Linked DNA regions of Homo sapiens: all the other regions are linked to region 3. The links are contacts of gene promoters, found by promoter capture Hi-C in blood cells and fetal thymus (Javierre and others, 2016). All regions are on one chromosome and are shown on one strand. Each heading gives the region's core, a stretch centred on a gene start or on the middle of the fragment in contact. The rest is flanking DNA. Distances are from core to core; before and after follow the strand shown.

The links. Contacts are between HindIII fragments. The CHiCAGO score rates a contact against its expected background, and 5 or more counts as called.
Region 1: a contact is called between a fragment that was not itself captured here and the fragment with the promoter of AVPR1A in region 3, in 1 of 17 cell types (megakaryocytes). The highest score is 5.3, in megakaryocytes.
Region 2: a fragment that was not itself captured here is called in contact with the fragment with the promoter of AVPR1A in region 3 in 1 of 17 cell types (megakaryocytes); the score reaches 6.0 in megakaryocytes.

The regions. Positions count from the first base shown.
Region 1 is chr12:63,314,132-63,318,962 of GRCh38, forward strand. The region is part of intron 1 of LINC03056 (long intergenic non-protein coding RNA 3056); the gene reads right to left. Among named protein-coding and RNA genes, the nearest start is that of LINC03056, 57 kb to the right of the region's middle. The HindIII fragment of the contact is 3,154 bases long and covers 1-3,014 here.
Region 2 is chr12:63,293,504-63,298,409 of GRCh38, forward strand. The region is part of intron 1 of LINC03056 (long intergenic non-protein coding RNA 3056); the gene reads right to left. Among named protein-coding and RNA genes, the nearest start is that of LINC03056, 78 kb to the right of the region's middle. The HindIII fragment of the contact is 1,297 bases long and covers 2,259-3,555 here.
Region 3 is chr12:63,149,585-63,154,501 of GRCh38, forward strand. It overlaps AVPR1A (arginine vasopressin receptor 1A), which reads right to left and starts at 1,617. Exons shown (of 2, transcript NM_000706.5): 1 at 283-1,617. The coding sequence starts at 1,252. The HindIII fragment of the contact is 3,248 bases long and covers 1-1,824 here.

The sequences.
Region 1 (4,831 bases), core at 188-2,687, 160 kb after region 3:
AAAAGTACTGGGAGTCAGGGTTTAATGGTATGCAGAAGGCATGCTTTAGGTCCAGGACTGTGAACTATTTAGTTCCCTCAGGTATTTGAGCTAGCACGGAATACTGATTGGGAGTCACTGGGTGAATTAAAACCACAGCCTCGTTAATGAGGTGGAGGTCCTGAACTAGTCTCCGTTCCCCATTGGGTTTTTGTACCTTAATATTGGGGTACTACAAGGGCTGTTTTTTTATTTTTATTTTTGGACACATCATCCATTTCTTTACTATTCTTCAGAGTCTAAAACTTCCTTATGATACAATGTATAGTCACCCAATCCAGGCTGTTTATTGAAACTTCTATTCTCATTTGGTGGTAAACTTTTTTTTTTACATTTGTTTTACTATCAAAGATTTAGAGTCACAATAAATACAAGTGACAGTCTCCCATCCCCCCAAGAATGCCCCCAATATCCTGCACTAGTGTAATCTTCTGGTCCCAGGGCCTGTTGAGGAGGCCCTGCAACCTTAAGTTATCATTGATGGCTTCTAGTCCTTTCCTAACTTCTGGTTTCAAGGGATACTGTCTCTGGTTAGGAAAGGGGGTGAGATTCTTAAGGTGGATCTGGACCAGTATGGCAGTTGTAACTTGGCCGATTTTGGCTTGAATTGCCTAAATGTCTGGGTTAAAGGTCTCCACCAGGGAGAGACAAAGAATTTGTCCTGGGGCCATCAGGATGGTGGTCCCCATATGGGCCAGAATATCTCTGCCTAAAAGAGGAGTTGGGCTTTCAGGCACAATTAGAAAGGCATGAGTAACAATAGGTTTCCCCAACTACAACTAAGGGGTTGACAAAAATATCAAGTTAAAGGCCTTTCTGAGATGCCCCTCACAGGTCATGCTAAGAGAGAAGAGGGAGTCTGGATTGGAGAGGAGAACTGAGAGACCCACCCCAGTGTCCAGAAGGAGATCCACTTTCCTCCCTTCAATTTCCAGAATTACCCAGGACTCCTGGATGGTAATAGTAGTCTGGACCACCAGGGTGGGGAAGAGGAGCCCTGGGACTCATCAGTCCTGTTGGACTGTTTGGGAGATTGGCTCTGAACCTGGTGACCAGCATCCCTAGGGACAGTCTGCCTTCCAGTGGTCCCAATTGCAGATTGGACAGGGTTGAGGTGGCTTTCTCATGCTGCCTGGGCAATCCTTCCTAAAATGCCCTGGCTTGCCACATTTGAAGCAGTTAACAAGTACACCTCAGGGATTTTGGGATTTGTGGTCTTGCATGGTGACCATTAAAGCCTCTGCATTTTTCCTGTGTCTTCATTCTCTCTCTCTCTCCCTCCCTCCCTCCCTCCCTCCTTCTCTCTCTCTTTCTCCCTCTCTCCTTGGCCTCCCTATCTCTATTATTATATTATTATAAAAGACCGAGGTGGCCACTTTTAGGAAGTTCTCTAAAGTACTATCTGGTCCAACAGCTTGTTTCCGTAGCTTCCTCCTGATATCAGGGGCTGCCTGAGTAATACACTTATTTTTTAGGATTAGTTGTTCCTTAACTGAATCAGGAGCTAGAGAAGTGTGCTTTACCAAGGCCTCTCTTAGCCTTTCCAGGAAGGCAGTGGGATTCTCATCAAATCCCTGATCTATCATGAATAGCTTGGTATAATTGTGAGGCTTAGTTCTAGTCCTACGTAAGCACCCCCATTATGCACACCTGAAAGCGTTTCCTCTTCCATCTCCCATCTCATCATTAGGATCCCATTTAGGGTCATCCAGTGGTACTGATTCTCTTCCAGTTGGATAAAGTTTGTCCCCTTCCCTGACACTATATGAGATACAAAGCTCATTCCCAAATCTCTCTGCCACTTGCAGAGTGGCCTGCTTCTCAGCATTAGTCAGAGTTTGATTCAAAAGTAACATAACATCTTTCCAGGAGAGTTCAAATACTTTGGTTAAATTCTGGAGAGCCTCTATATATCTGTCAAGATCATCTAAAACTTTGCCAAGATCCGCCTTAATTTGCCTTAATTCCTGTAGAGAGAAGGGGACCTGGATTTTACTGGGGCCAAATTCACCAGGCATCTGTTGGAGGGGCATAAGTGGTACTGGGCCTTGTCTAGGGTGAGGATTTCTAGGAGGAGGCAAGCTAAAGAGAGAAACTGGATAGGGAGGCCAAGGTGGATCCAGGGGAGCAGGGCTAGAGGGAGCTGGATCCCCTGCTGGAGGTTTCTCTGGGGTTTGATTTTTTAGTTCCCTGAGATTGACCCGTGCAGCCTCTCCTGAGATGGCAAACAGGAGAGCCGGATCAATCCTACATGTTGGCAAAGGTCTGTATTACCCTGCAAGGTAAAGAAAGCCTACACATATGGGGCCTCAGACCATTTGCCTTTGTGTTTACAGAAAAAGTCCAACTGAAAGATTGTATCAAAATGAATGGTTCCTTCCTGAGGCCAAGCCAGTCCTTCCTGCAGATCATAATATGTCCAAACCTTTGTGCAGAGGGCTATGAGGCATTTTTTCTCCAGGGTCTGAGGGTCAAAACAGTCCCAAAGATTCAGGATACACTCCAGAGGAGTATGGACTGAAGATGGTAAGGATAGTTGGTTGCCCACTCTGAAAGAGAGAGAAATAGGCATACCTTATTTCCCTTCCCTCTTTCAGCAAAAACCCAGGGTGTGAGGGAGAGAACAAAAAAGGGCATACCTCTTTTTCCTTTCATCTTTTCATCCCCGAGTCCTGGCAACCTTAGACAGATGCTGCCCATGAGTGCTGGTGTGACCTGCACCCATGAAACTTGGTGGGGGGGCAGGGGGCGGGGGGCCTGGAAAATAGGATTTATTTGCACTCACCTATGCCTCCACCCTCCCTACTGTAGGCAACCTTTGGGTTCCCTGGGCCTCATCTATGCCATGGAGCTTGGCCTCCTATCATGAAGCGGGGACTTAATCAGCAGGAATTAGTCCTGCCCATCTATGCTATGTCTGTTGCCTGGCTTTGAATCACTCAGATCTAGTTTTCCTTTCTAGGGCTTCAACCTAAAGCTTGGAACCAAGTTTGGAAAAAGGTATCTCAGGGGGTGCATGGATTCATTTAGATTAAGTTACAGATGGGGCTTTTCAAATTTGCAGTTATCAGCTGGTGGGGTCGCTCCTCCATTGCTTCCCTGCCATAAGCAGAGTGTAAGGTAGAAAAAAACACCCTCTTGCATAGAAAAGGAAAAAGAAAAACCAGCTTAAGTGTCAGAGGCACGTGGAGAACCTCTTGCTCTATGCAAATGGGTTCCTTTAATCACCGTATCCTTCCTCTGGTTTGGACTGAGCTGGAGCTCTCCGCCAGGGGAGGGAAGACTCTGTGGACACATGATGGGAGGGAATGACAAGCAGGAAATGCTGGCCAAATGGCTGCATGGGGCCCCTGGCCCCCAAGACTGCCCTGGGGCTTGGGCGGTGACTGTGGTTCTTTCCTGCCTCATGTGCCCGTTGGGCACAGCACATACATGCAGTGGACATGCCCAAGTGCCCCACCTGGGAGTGGAGGGGGCGGGGTGGGGGAGCCGCTGTGCACTGTGCACGCCTTTGGGTGTTGGGATGAGGTGGGAGTGACTCCTCTAAGAACAGATGGAAATTGCATTGTTCTGAATTGCATATCTGATGGATTGGCTAAATGCTCCTACCTAGTAACATTTCTGCAGTTTGTAGTAACACCCTTAACATTATAAAAGAAGAGAGAGGCGCCATTTCAAACCGTGAAAGAAGGAAGGACAAATAACAGAAAAATCTGGGGGTCTTGGCTGATGCCCTAATGGGCAGTTGGGGACTGAGCCAAGTCTAGGGGCCTTACGGCAACACCGGGGAGTGGCCTCAATCAGACGCCTTCAGTTTCCTCAGGACTTTATCCCAGTCCCACGCAATGGCTAGACCTCTGTGAAGGGAAACAGAGCCAACATTCCTTTCACCCAAAAGAGAGGTGGCAGGGTCACATTCTGTCATCTACAGCTGTGCCATTCATCCTTAATTGGCCACTCAGAGGTTTGGTGCGTCATTTGCCTTCAGAGGAAAGTATGAGGACAAGAAGTCTTGGGGAAAAAAAATGAAGAGACAGATCCAACAGATCCACATTTATTCACCCTTCTGACAAATCCTGGGTGAGCCTCAAGATGATGCAGGATTTTTTCTTGACCCCTTCATGGGACTTGTGACAGGGGTGTCTCATTTATTCACCCTGCCCTGCTCAACCCCTCACAGAAGGGAGCATGCAAGTGAACAAGTGTGGGAACTGGTCAGGTGCTTCGGCACTAGCAGGAGCAAACTGTTCACTTAGACCTGCTGCATTCCACCCCTCACAGAAGTGCACACATAGGCAAGTAAGTGCAGGAAGTGGCCAGTTGCTTCCGCGTCCACAGGAGCAAACTTCATGCAGGCTCTGCGGCAGCATCCAGGTGGGGGTGCTTGTCACCCCAAGGCCCCAGAGGGTGTGTTACAGTGCTGTCTTAGTTCCACTGTCTGCGGACAGCAGTATATCAGCTCACTGGGCCCTTTGCCTCATCACGTAGGGTGGCTGACCTCCACTAGCAAGGGCAAACGGCCAGTGTGATAGCTGTTTTGGGTACCCACACTTGGTGGATCCCAAATTCTTGTCCAGTGACCAGGAAGAATGAGGTCACATGGACAAATTGAAGGATGGCAAACGCAAAGAATTTTATTGAGTGATGAGAGCAGCTCTCAGTGGAGAGGGGAGCTGGAAAGGGGATGGGAAGGGCAGGTTGCTCTCCCCTGAAGTCAAGTTGTCTCTCTCTGAGGTACAGCCAGCATCTCTGAAGTCAAGTTGCTTCTCCTCTCTACTGGCTAAGTCTGGGG
Region 2 (4,906 bases), core at 1,657-4,156, 150 kb after region 3:
TGCAATGGTGCAATCTTGGCTCACTGCAACCTCCGCCTCCCAGGTTCAAGCAATTCTCCTGCCTCACCCTCCCAGGTAGCTGGGATTACAGGCATGTGCCACCAGGCCCGGCTAATTTTTTTTGTATTTTGGAGAGACGGGGTTTCACCATGTTGGTCAGGCTGGTCTCGAATTCCTGACTTCAGGCGATCCACCCACCTCCGCCTCTCAAAGTGCTGGGTGTTCTTATAAGAGTATGTGTTTACTTCTGAGTCGTGTGGTTTTGGGAAGTGGGAGAAGATAAGCTTATGGGAAGGATGCTGGAATGTTGAGCCAACAAATAACAACATACATAAATAATGAAATGGAAGAGCCACAGCAACTTGGGATACTTAAGGCCACTGAGAGAGGGGACAAATTGTTGTTGCTATTGTTGTTTTATTTTGTTTTGGCTTGGGGAATTTAGACCTCCATATCATAATGTGATAAGCAGTGGGACCTCTTAGTATTGTTGAACGTAAAAATAGATTTGGTTTGTTTATGCTTAACTCCAAACCAAGTGGCAGGTTTGGATGGAATGTCCCTCGCAAGTCCAGTGAAATAATTATAACAAGATGTTATACGGCCTGGCACGCTATGAGAGTACAGATTTAAGACTAAAGGATTATAAATAAACTTATAGGGAAGTTTTAGTACTGACACATTCCAAGAGAAAATTTAGAGTATAAAACCTTATACTTTTGAACACATTAGACACTGAGGACTAATGAATTTTAGATAATAATGTTAAGATGAGTTCCACTGAATTCACTGAGGAATCAGTCAGCTCAAGGGTAGGAACAATTAAATTTTCATGTTTCCACAAACAGCAGTCCCGTATGTCACTTATTAACCATCATAGTTACTGGTAAGTTTGTTTTCAAGGTTTCATGTTATTTAAGAAAACAAAGCAGCAGTCAGGCATGACTCAGCCAACAGGCACTCACTGAGTGTCCACAGGAAGCATATTCTAAGGAACACACCACAAAACCTTTCATTCCTAGAAATAAAAGGTGGATTTTCCTTGCCTACCAGACCACATAGTTGTGATATATTTAGCATAAAGAAAATATTACCTTACAGACAGTATATAAAATAGGATCCATTTTGTGGAGATTAAAAGAGTATAAATTATATAGATCAAACTACAGACCTTGTCCAGGCACTGAGTAATGGAAATTTCATTAAAATTACAAACAACAAAAATATATACAAACCAAGTGTATCTCTGGGTGGTGAACACTTTGGAGATTATTCTTCTTGTTTCTTTAGGTCTCTTGATCATTCAACATTCAAAAACATGTTGTGTTCATGTAATTTTAAAGAGGGTTTTTTAGAGAAAGAATAACCAAGTTGTTCTACAAATCTACAAGTAGCTGATAATCTTGGCCTACAATAGGAAAATGCTAGTATAATTGATGGGCTAGGAGGCTGCAAGCAGTAAGTTTAAATTTGGAGCCAACACATCTGTATTTAAATATCTGACAATCTCATTGTTTGTCATTCCTGTCTACAAAATGGCAAAAATGTTCTGTTTCCTTTCTCATTTCACTTAAAACTGAAAATAGTACTCACACAATAGACATTTTGATTAAAACATTGTCACTAGATGGAGCAAAACAGTAGATTAAAGAAATCTGGCTTTTGTCAATGATGAGCTAAGAATTTAAATAGAACAAATCTTGATAAATATCTCAAGTGTAGGTCGCCAAATATGAGAAAACAGCTTTAGGATTTTCAGTAAGGAAAACACTATGAGGATTTCATTCATTAATTCAGCAAATATTTATTAGGTAACAAGGTAGCCTACTCTAAGTGCTGGGACGGAGCAGAAAACAAGACAGGAGTTGTTCCAGTCTCATGTAACATTCATTCATTCTAGTCACAGAGATGAACAGTAACCAAAACAGGGACAAATACTTACATAATCATAGATGGAAGTTTTACAAAAGGTGAAGGGCAGGATGCTACTGAAATTTATCAGGGGTACCATTCTACTCTGAATTATCAGTGAAGACATCATTGGGAGACATTTAATCTGGTCCCTAGTTACAAGTAGAACTTGATCAGGACAACGATGGGGTGGGAGTATAGGGAAAGGGCTTTGGGGAAGAGAGAATCCTAAGTGCAAGATATCTCAGGCATTAAAGAAGGTTAACAAACTGAAAGAACGAAAAATGAAGCTGGAATATGGTGTGGTGGGATAGAAGGGATGAATGGCTTATTAGATTGTGTTAAGAAGCTTAGATATGATCCTAAAAGCAATGAAAAGCTCTTTGGTTAGCACATGAAGCCAACTCAATTCTTGTTTAAATAGTAACTACATATATTGCATATATAAAAATTATTTTATCTCTTGAATTAATCAGTATTGAAATGTAGATTTTCAGAAGTTTTAGAAAACATGTTTTGTAATAGGAGAAAAATCAACATAGGATTTACAGAATTAAAATCTATTCATGATGTGAATCTCATTTAACCAGTATAACTGTTTTACTAAGTCTACATTTACAAAATAGAGACTCATCTCTTTTTTATGCCAATTTACTTTGGAGCCACCACTGTTTCTTGTTAGATGAAATTTCAGGATATCATTCTGGAGGTTTTTCCTACTCCTCAATTTATTCAAGAACACCAGGAACCTAACTCAATCCCAAGTCTATCAGTCCAGCTTCCAAAACTCCAACTGGGTAGGAGCTGGACCCTGGCTAGTGCATCTGTGCCACATGATTGTTCAACGTGGTTCAGCACTGTTGAAGAGCAGCCCTGCATAGATGAGCAGACTGTGATTGTTCACTACTGCTAAAGCACACTCATGATGATCAGGTCCTAGCCCAGGCTTTGGGTGTGCCCATGCTGTGGGGATGCCCATGCTTTCGGGTGTGCCCATGCTGTATGGGGATGATTATTTCTTGTTCTACTTATCATGGACTAATTCAAACATATACCAGAATATAGTATACCCATCATCCAGTTCAGTAATTTTCAGTGTATGGATAATCTTGTTCATCTATATTCTTCCCTACCTATCCTCCTCACACCCAACATTTTAAAGGAAATGCCAGAATCATATCACTTTATTTGTAGTATTATTTGCAGCACTAAAGATAAGGATTATTAAAAAGAAAACCTAAACCCATTTTAAATGTGATGCCATTATCACACTTAAAATATAAATATGTGCATTTTATCATCAACTATCCAACCAGCATTCAAATTCCCCCAGTTGTCTCACAAATGTTTTAATAATTTATTTTTTATAATTTGTTTGTAGAAATCAGAATCCAAATAAAGTTCATAATTGCAACAGGTCTCTTAAGTCTATTTTATTCTGTACGTTCCCCCTCTACCTTTTTTCTTTTTCCATAGATAGATTAGATAGATAGATGATAGATAGATAGAAAGATAGATAGATTTTTTAAGTAAATGATAGTTTGTCCTATTATGTTTTCTATTGTCTGAATTTTGCTGATTGCATCCCATTTGTGCCACTTAACATATTCTTTGATCCTCCTATATTGATGGGAAATTATTAGAAGCTTATTAGATTCAGGTTGGATTATTGGGGTATAATGACTTCATGGGTGGTATTGTGTACTTCCATCAGGAACACTTATCTAAATGTCTTCTTTTCAAATGTTGACAGTAATGGATGACTATTGCCTAGATTCATTAATACATCAATTATGGTTTGCAAAATGTGATATTCTTTCATTTCCTCTTCAGTCCTTGATTGGATATGTCTATTAAAAAAATCTCTTCCTCAAATATTTGGTTACCCTGGGATCATCGGTAAACAACTGAAACCTAATTGAACTTACATCTGTATCACCTTTCTCCTATGCTAAAATTCCTGGTTCCCAATAACACCAACATCATTACTTATTTGCTTTATTCCACAAAACACACAAAATGGTCTCAGAATAGCAACATCACTAGCACATATGGATACCAATAAAGTTTATGAATTTTCTTTTTAATTCCTTTTTGTCTTTAGGTTATAGTCTATAGGCAATGTACATTGGAATCACTGTGCCTTAAGCTTGTCTGAAAAGTTGTGCCACCAACTTAATAAGCAATTAACTTCCATTTTCATTTGCCTTCAACTCTTAGGGGCTGTTTTTCTAAATTAAATTTTGTTCTATATTTGTGCAAAAGATTTACGTGGCCCTAAAGTCAAAACTGCAAGCAAAGTATATTTTTGAAATTTTAGTTTCTATCTTTGTCTTTGCCATACTAGTCTTCCCCTTCTACATAGTAACTTTTTTTTCTCGTAATTTTAAAGTTATCCTTTTATGGTCCTTACCTAGGTAAACAGTAGCATACTATAAACACTTTTTCTCGCTAAGCGATAAAGTAATTTCTAATTTACATTCCCACGTTCAACTGTTGTTTATCAAGTATAATCACTGGAATATAATGACTGAGACCAAATATAATCACTAGAACTACAGCCCCACTCTCATGGACATTAGGAGCCTGTCACTCTTCTGTAACACTGGCTTTTGGTCAGGACCAAATGGTTTATTCTAACAGGTCTCTCTAAACTTTGAATCTTAGAAAGTCCCTAGCCTCTTAAGCCTCCTAATACAAATAGATTCATTCTACCTACTCCCTACTCAGAGCTCAGCATATGGGAAAGACAGCTTTTGTTTAGTCTCACAAAACAAAACAAAACAAAATAAAACATCTAGCTATACATTTCTCTCAGGATACTGAGTTTCTTTCTGCTGAAAGAAGAAAGGGAACGGGCTTTTTGCAAGAGGAATAATCTTTGGTAAACAGATTGCTTCAACATGACCTTCTGTCTCCCCCAGTAAGTAAGAAAGCTGGTAACAGTTTCCCCATAAAACAAGAAAACCAATTCCATGTAAACTAATACTACCAG
Region 3 (4,917 bases), core at 367-2,866:
AAATGCAGAGTCCTGAGCCCCATTCCAGACATTCTTAATTAGAATGTCTGCATGGGGAATCCAGGAATATGCTTTTTTTTTTTTTAAACAGTGTTCCTCCAAGGTGCGACTCTTATGTACACATAGAAGTTTAAAAACTACTGCCCTAGAAGATACTATGAAGAAAATTGCTAGATTCTCATTTTTTTCTCTCTCTCTCTCTCTCTCTCTCTCTCACACACACACACACACACACACACACACTCCTATCCCTGCACTTTCCTCTATTTTCCCGGCACGTACCGGTCCAGACGGACATGGGATCCCAGACAGACCACATCTGGATGATGAAGAAAGGCGCCCAGCAGACGATGTAAGCCGTCACGATCACAAAAGTCATCTTCACCGTGCGGATCTTGGCCCGGGAAATGGACTTCACGCTGCTGACACAGGGTGCGAGCAGGAACCCCTTTTGGAAGGCCACACCCGCTTGCTCTGCACCCTTGCTCTGGCGCGACGCCGTCTTCCCGCGGACGTTGCACCAGATGTTGTAGCAGATGAAGCCGTAGCAGGTACCCAAGATGACCACGGGCGCCACAAAGATGCCGCCCGTCATCCAGGTCACGTAGGCACGAGAACCCCAGGGCTGGATGAAGGTGGCCCAGCAGTCGCGGGCCTTGGTGACATTGTTCACCTCGATCATGGAGAAGACGAAGTACTGCGGCGTGCTCAGCACGAAGCTCAGCACCCAGGCGGCCGCGATCATGAGGCGCGAGCGGCGCGCGGGCTGTTGCAGAGTCTTGAGCGGGTGGCACACCGCGATGTAGCGGTCGGCTGTCATGACTACCAGCATGTAGGCCGACGCAAACATGCCGAACACCTGCAGGTGCTTCACCACGCGGCACAGCCAGTCGGGGCCGCGGAAGCGGTAGGTGATGTCCCAGCACATTTGCGGCAGCACCTGGAAGAATGCCACGGCCAGGTCGGCCAGGCTGAGGTGTCGGATGAAGAGGTGCATGCGGGACGTCTTGCGCGGCGTCCGGTGCAGAGCCAGCAGTACGCTGCTGTTGCCCAGCACGGCCACCGCGAAAGTCACCGCCAGCACGGCGATCTCCAGTTTGGCCAGCTCCTCGTTGCGCACGTCCCTCGGTGGGCCGTTGCCCTCCCCGAGGGCTTCGGCCTCCCGGCTTGTGTTGCCAGCGCCGGTGGCCAGAGGCCACCATGGGCTGGAGTTGCCCGAGGGCCCCGCGTCGGGACCGGCGGAGAGACGCATGCTGTCCATGCAGCTCCTACTCGGCCCTCTTCGGAGCTCCAGCCCTCGCGGGCCGCTCCCTCCCCGTCTCGGAGGACTTGGGCTCCTCGTCCGAAGCGCAGGGTCTTTGGCGCGCTCGCAGCTTGCCGGGCTCTGCGATCCCTCCAGTGGGCGTCTCCCGGAGCAGCGTCCCGCCTGCCCACTGAGCAGCTCTCAGCAGGGTGAGCTGGCCCCTCTCCCTGCTCTGCCTTTTTTCAACTTCGGCGAGGTCGGGAAGGTGAGCTCCGAGCTTCCGGAAGCACTGGGTTCCCAACTCAAGTATTTATGCGGTGCTTGTTTCCTTGGGACGCGCTCCCTCCCGCCCTATTGCCGGAAGACTGCTGGTTGCCTACTCCCCGCTCCCTGGAGTTTTATTTTTTCCTCTCCCTACGTCGGTGTTTGTCCTCTGCATCACTGTGGAGGGGGTGGAGCTGGGAGACTCGCAGATTCCTCCTCACAGTAGGTGGGATCGTGGCGCTTTCCCGCTTTTCCCTTCCAAAAACTTGGACAACTGGACGAGTCATGCCTTTTCTGGGCTCGTAGCCGTTTCCACAAGCTTCCCTCACTAGCCTTCCTCGCTAGCCTCCTTAACCATGCATTTGACTTCAACAGGCACGCTAAGCGCGGTACCTGGAAACCTCCAGTCCACGCACCGGCGTCCACGCATCTAGCTCCTGCACCTGAACCTGGCTCTCGACCTCACCTCCTCCAGTCCGGGTTTCTTCCTTCTCACCGAGCTCACCCGTGCAGCAGTCTGGCAAATTTTATTCCCCAGGCAAATTTTCCCGGGGCAAACATTTCTCCCCGCTCGTGACTTAAAGAGCTATCTCTTCCTAGTAACGTCTTTGATGCATGCTATTTATTACCCTATGTTTGCGACGGGAAGAACGCACTCATCACTTTGCAGCCCCAGTGGCTGCTGTGCCTGTATTCACAGCGGGGTTTGGGGGGAGTGTCTCCTGGTTTTCTCTATGGAGACTAGGGACTTAAGGAGTTTTCTCTAGATTCCTGGGGTTTTCTGCGGGAAAAGCCTGATTCCCACAGCGGGGATGGCGGAAATTTGGCCGCAGTGGTCCGTGGGGACCGTCTGGTTACTACTGAGTCGTGGGGACATCTTTTTGGGTGGACAAAGAGCAGCTGCCGGACAGCGGCCATCCAGGCAGTGCTGTCCAGGGCAAGGGACAGAAAACCCGCCCGGCTCCTGTGCTCAGGAGTAAGAAAGAGGCAATCTCAAAGAGAGGAAAGAGGCCCTGGGAAGGAGGGGAAACAACCACCTACCTAGTAATCCGTTACTCTGAACAGCTGGAGCCCCTCTGCAGGGCGGGAGGGAGGCAGAAATGCGATCTCCCTCAGCTCTGTTTTAACGTTGGTGAAGATATGCCTCGACGGACAGCAAGGGGGAGCTGTTTTCAGGCAATTTTACAAGGAAGAAAGGAAGCCGTTTCTGCAGTTATCTGCTGTGTAGATGCAGGAGCATGACTTTGTTGGTCAGAACGTTTCAGTATTGTGGCCGTGGTATAAATTTAATTGCCTCAGAAAAATATCACCCTCTGTGAAACGTAGGCAAAAAATGCAAAAGATTTTATTCATTGCAGTTCTCAGTAATAATTCCACTTTACTATCCAGTCCGTTCATGCAGAGTTACCAAGGTTGTCACGTTGAGATGCTGGACTTGAAATCTGGAGTCCTGCTTCCTGTGGCTAGATAATCCTGGGTCTGTGCGTCTTATAAATGGAAATGAAAGGACCTGCCTTTCCTGTTGTTGAGGTCATCGGGAAGATCAAGTAAGACAATGTTCTGTATGGGGGAAATGCTCTAAAAACTGAAAGCTGTGTTGTGTTGGTTCATTTTCTCCAAGATATCCAGGAGGCAGAAGATTGAAATGGTTCAGGGATGGAAGGTAATAGGTAAAAGGTTTCCAGACCACCTGTCTGGAAAAAATCCTTCAAGCAATTAGGTAATAGTCACTGACTCAGAGAATTCACTTTCTTTTAAGTCACAAATTACACTATTAGTGCTCCTGATGAGAAAGAATGTTGACTGAACCTAGTGTCTGGGTATTGCAAAAGTGGTTTGTTGGCCACAGCCTAGTAATTTTGTGGCTCTTGGCCCTACACACTTGAGCTTTTAGGTTTTTTTCAGGAGAGGAAATCTGCAATACAGGCTCACCAATATCTCTGTGGAGGTTCTTATTCCAGGAGATAGGGTGGTGGCCTCTCAGGAAATCATCTGTGTCAGACAATCTGATCCAATTATAAAACTATATCCAATTATCCAAATTATAAAAATAACCTCTCAAGTTATGTTGGTGGATACAGTTGGAAGATATTATTGTTCAGTGACAACAGTACCAATTATCCATATATATCAAATGTATATATGCTTGATACATAGATGTATGTTTATATGTATGCATCTGGCCATTCTATGTATCATGTGTCAATCAATCATCTATCTATCTGTCTATCTATCTATCTATCTATCTATCTATCTATCTATCATCCATCTATCTGTCTCTCGCTGGTTGTGCTGGATGCCATGGGGCCTGGAAAGCAGGAAAAAAAAATGTTCATTGCAGATTGTAGAACCAGTCCCTTTGTTTAATCCATATAGTTTTAAACATGTTTTTGACTTAATTTAACTGGTTTTATATACAAAGGAAAGCAGGACTATTACATATGAGGCACTACTCATATGCCTCACTGGACCTGCTATTAAATTACCCCATAGAGAGTAAAATAATTGTGGTCTTAAAATATGAAAAAGAAAACACAACAGACAATATTTTATGTGGCACCTTGTGCTTTTTCTTAGAGCAATTTACATTTTCTCTGTACTTTTTGTATTATTAAGACTTACCTTTTCCCTCTTACTCTTTGTAGACTTCAGTTAACAAATTTTAGGGGTGAAATAATGAAAAAAATAAGGAAGTTGTGCATACATATCCTGGAATAATCATTCTCTTTCATTTACCAATCTTCTTTCCTTTCACTTCATAATTCCAGATATTTGAGAAGTACTTCAGTTCATGGAAGCAGCTATCTCCTTCACTTACTAGCAGTAAGACTTTGTTTTCATCTTCGAGTTTCAAATTCTTCACTGTAAAATCTTGGTGATTAAACACAATGCAGTTGCTGCAAAGATTATATAAATGGTTGTTTAAATTTCTGGCATTTTATCGGTGTTCAAAACATTTTCTTTTTTTCATACATGTAAATCCTCCAAATTACCAGCTATTTTACCATTAACATTTTCCCTTCCAATTAAAGCAAAATATTCCCAATTTACATATGTGCAATGAGAAGAGTTTTATGGTTAAATATGTTGGAGAAGTGCTGTGTATGCATCCCACCCTCTCCTGGTGATTTATACATAAAAAGGACCTGAGAAACTTCAGAAAAGAAACTTACTTAACCTTGTTCATCAATGTTTTCCAAGGTTATTTTACCATGGAAACTCCCCATTTTTTTACTTTCCCCATGGAATGGTGATGAACATGTCACAAGACAAGGTGACAGAGCAGGAGCATCACCATCCTGCCATTTTAAAGTTCACCTTGATCAAAAACCACCTAAATCCAAAGGGCATCAGCCTAATGGCTAAGGCCAGAATGACCATGAGCCACAAATAACATCTCTTACCAGAAA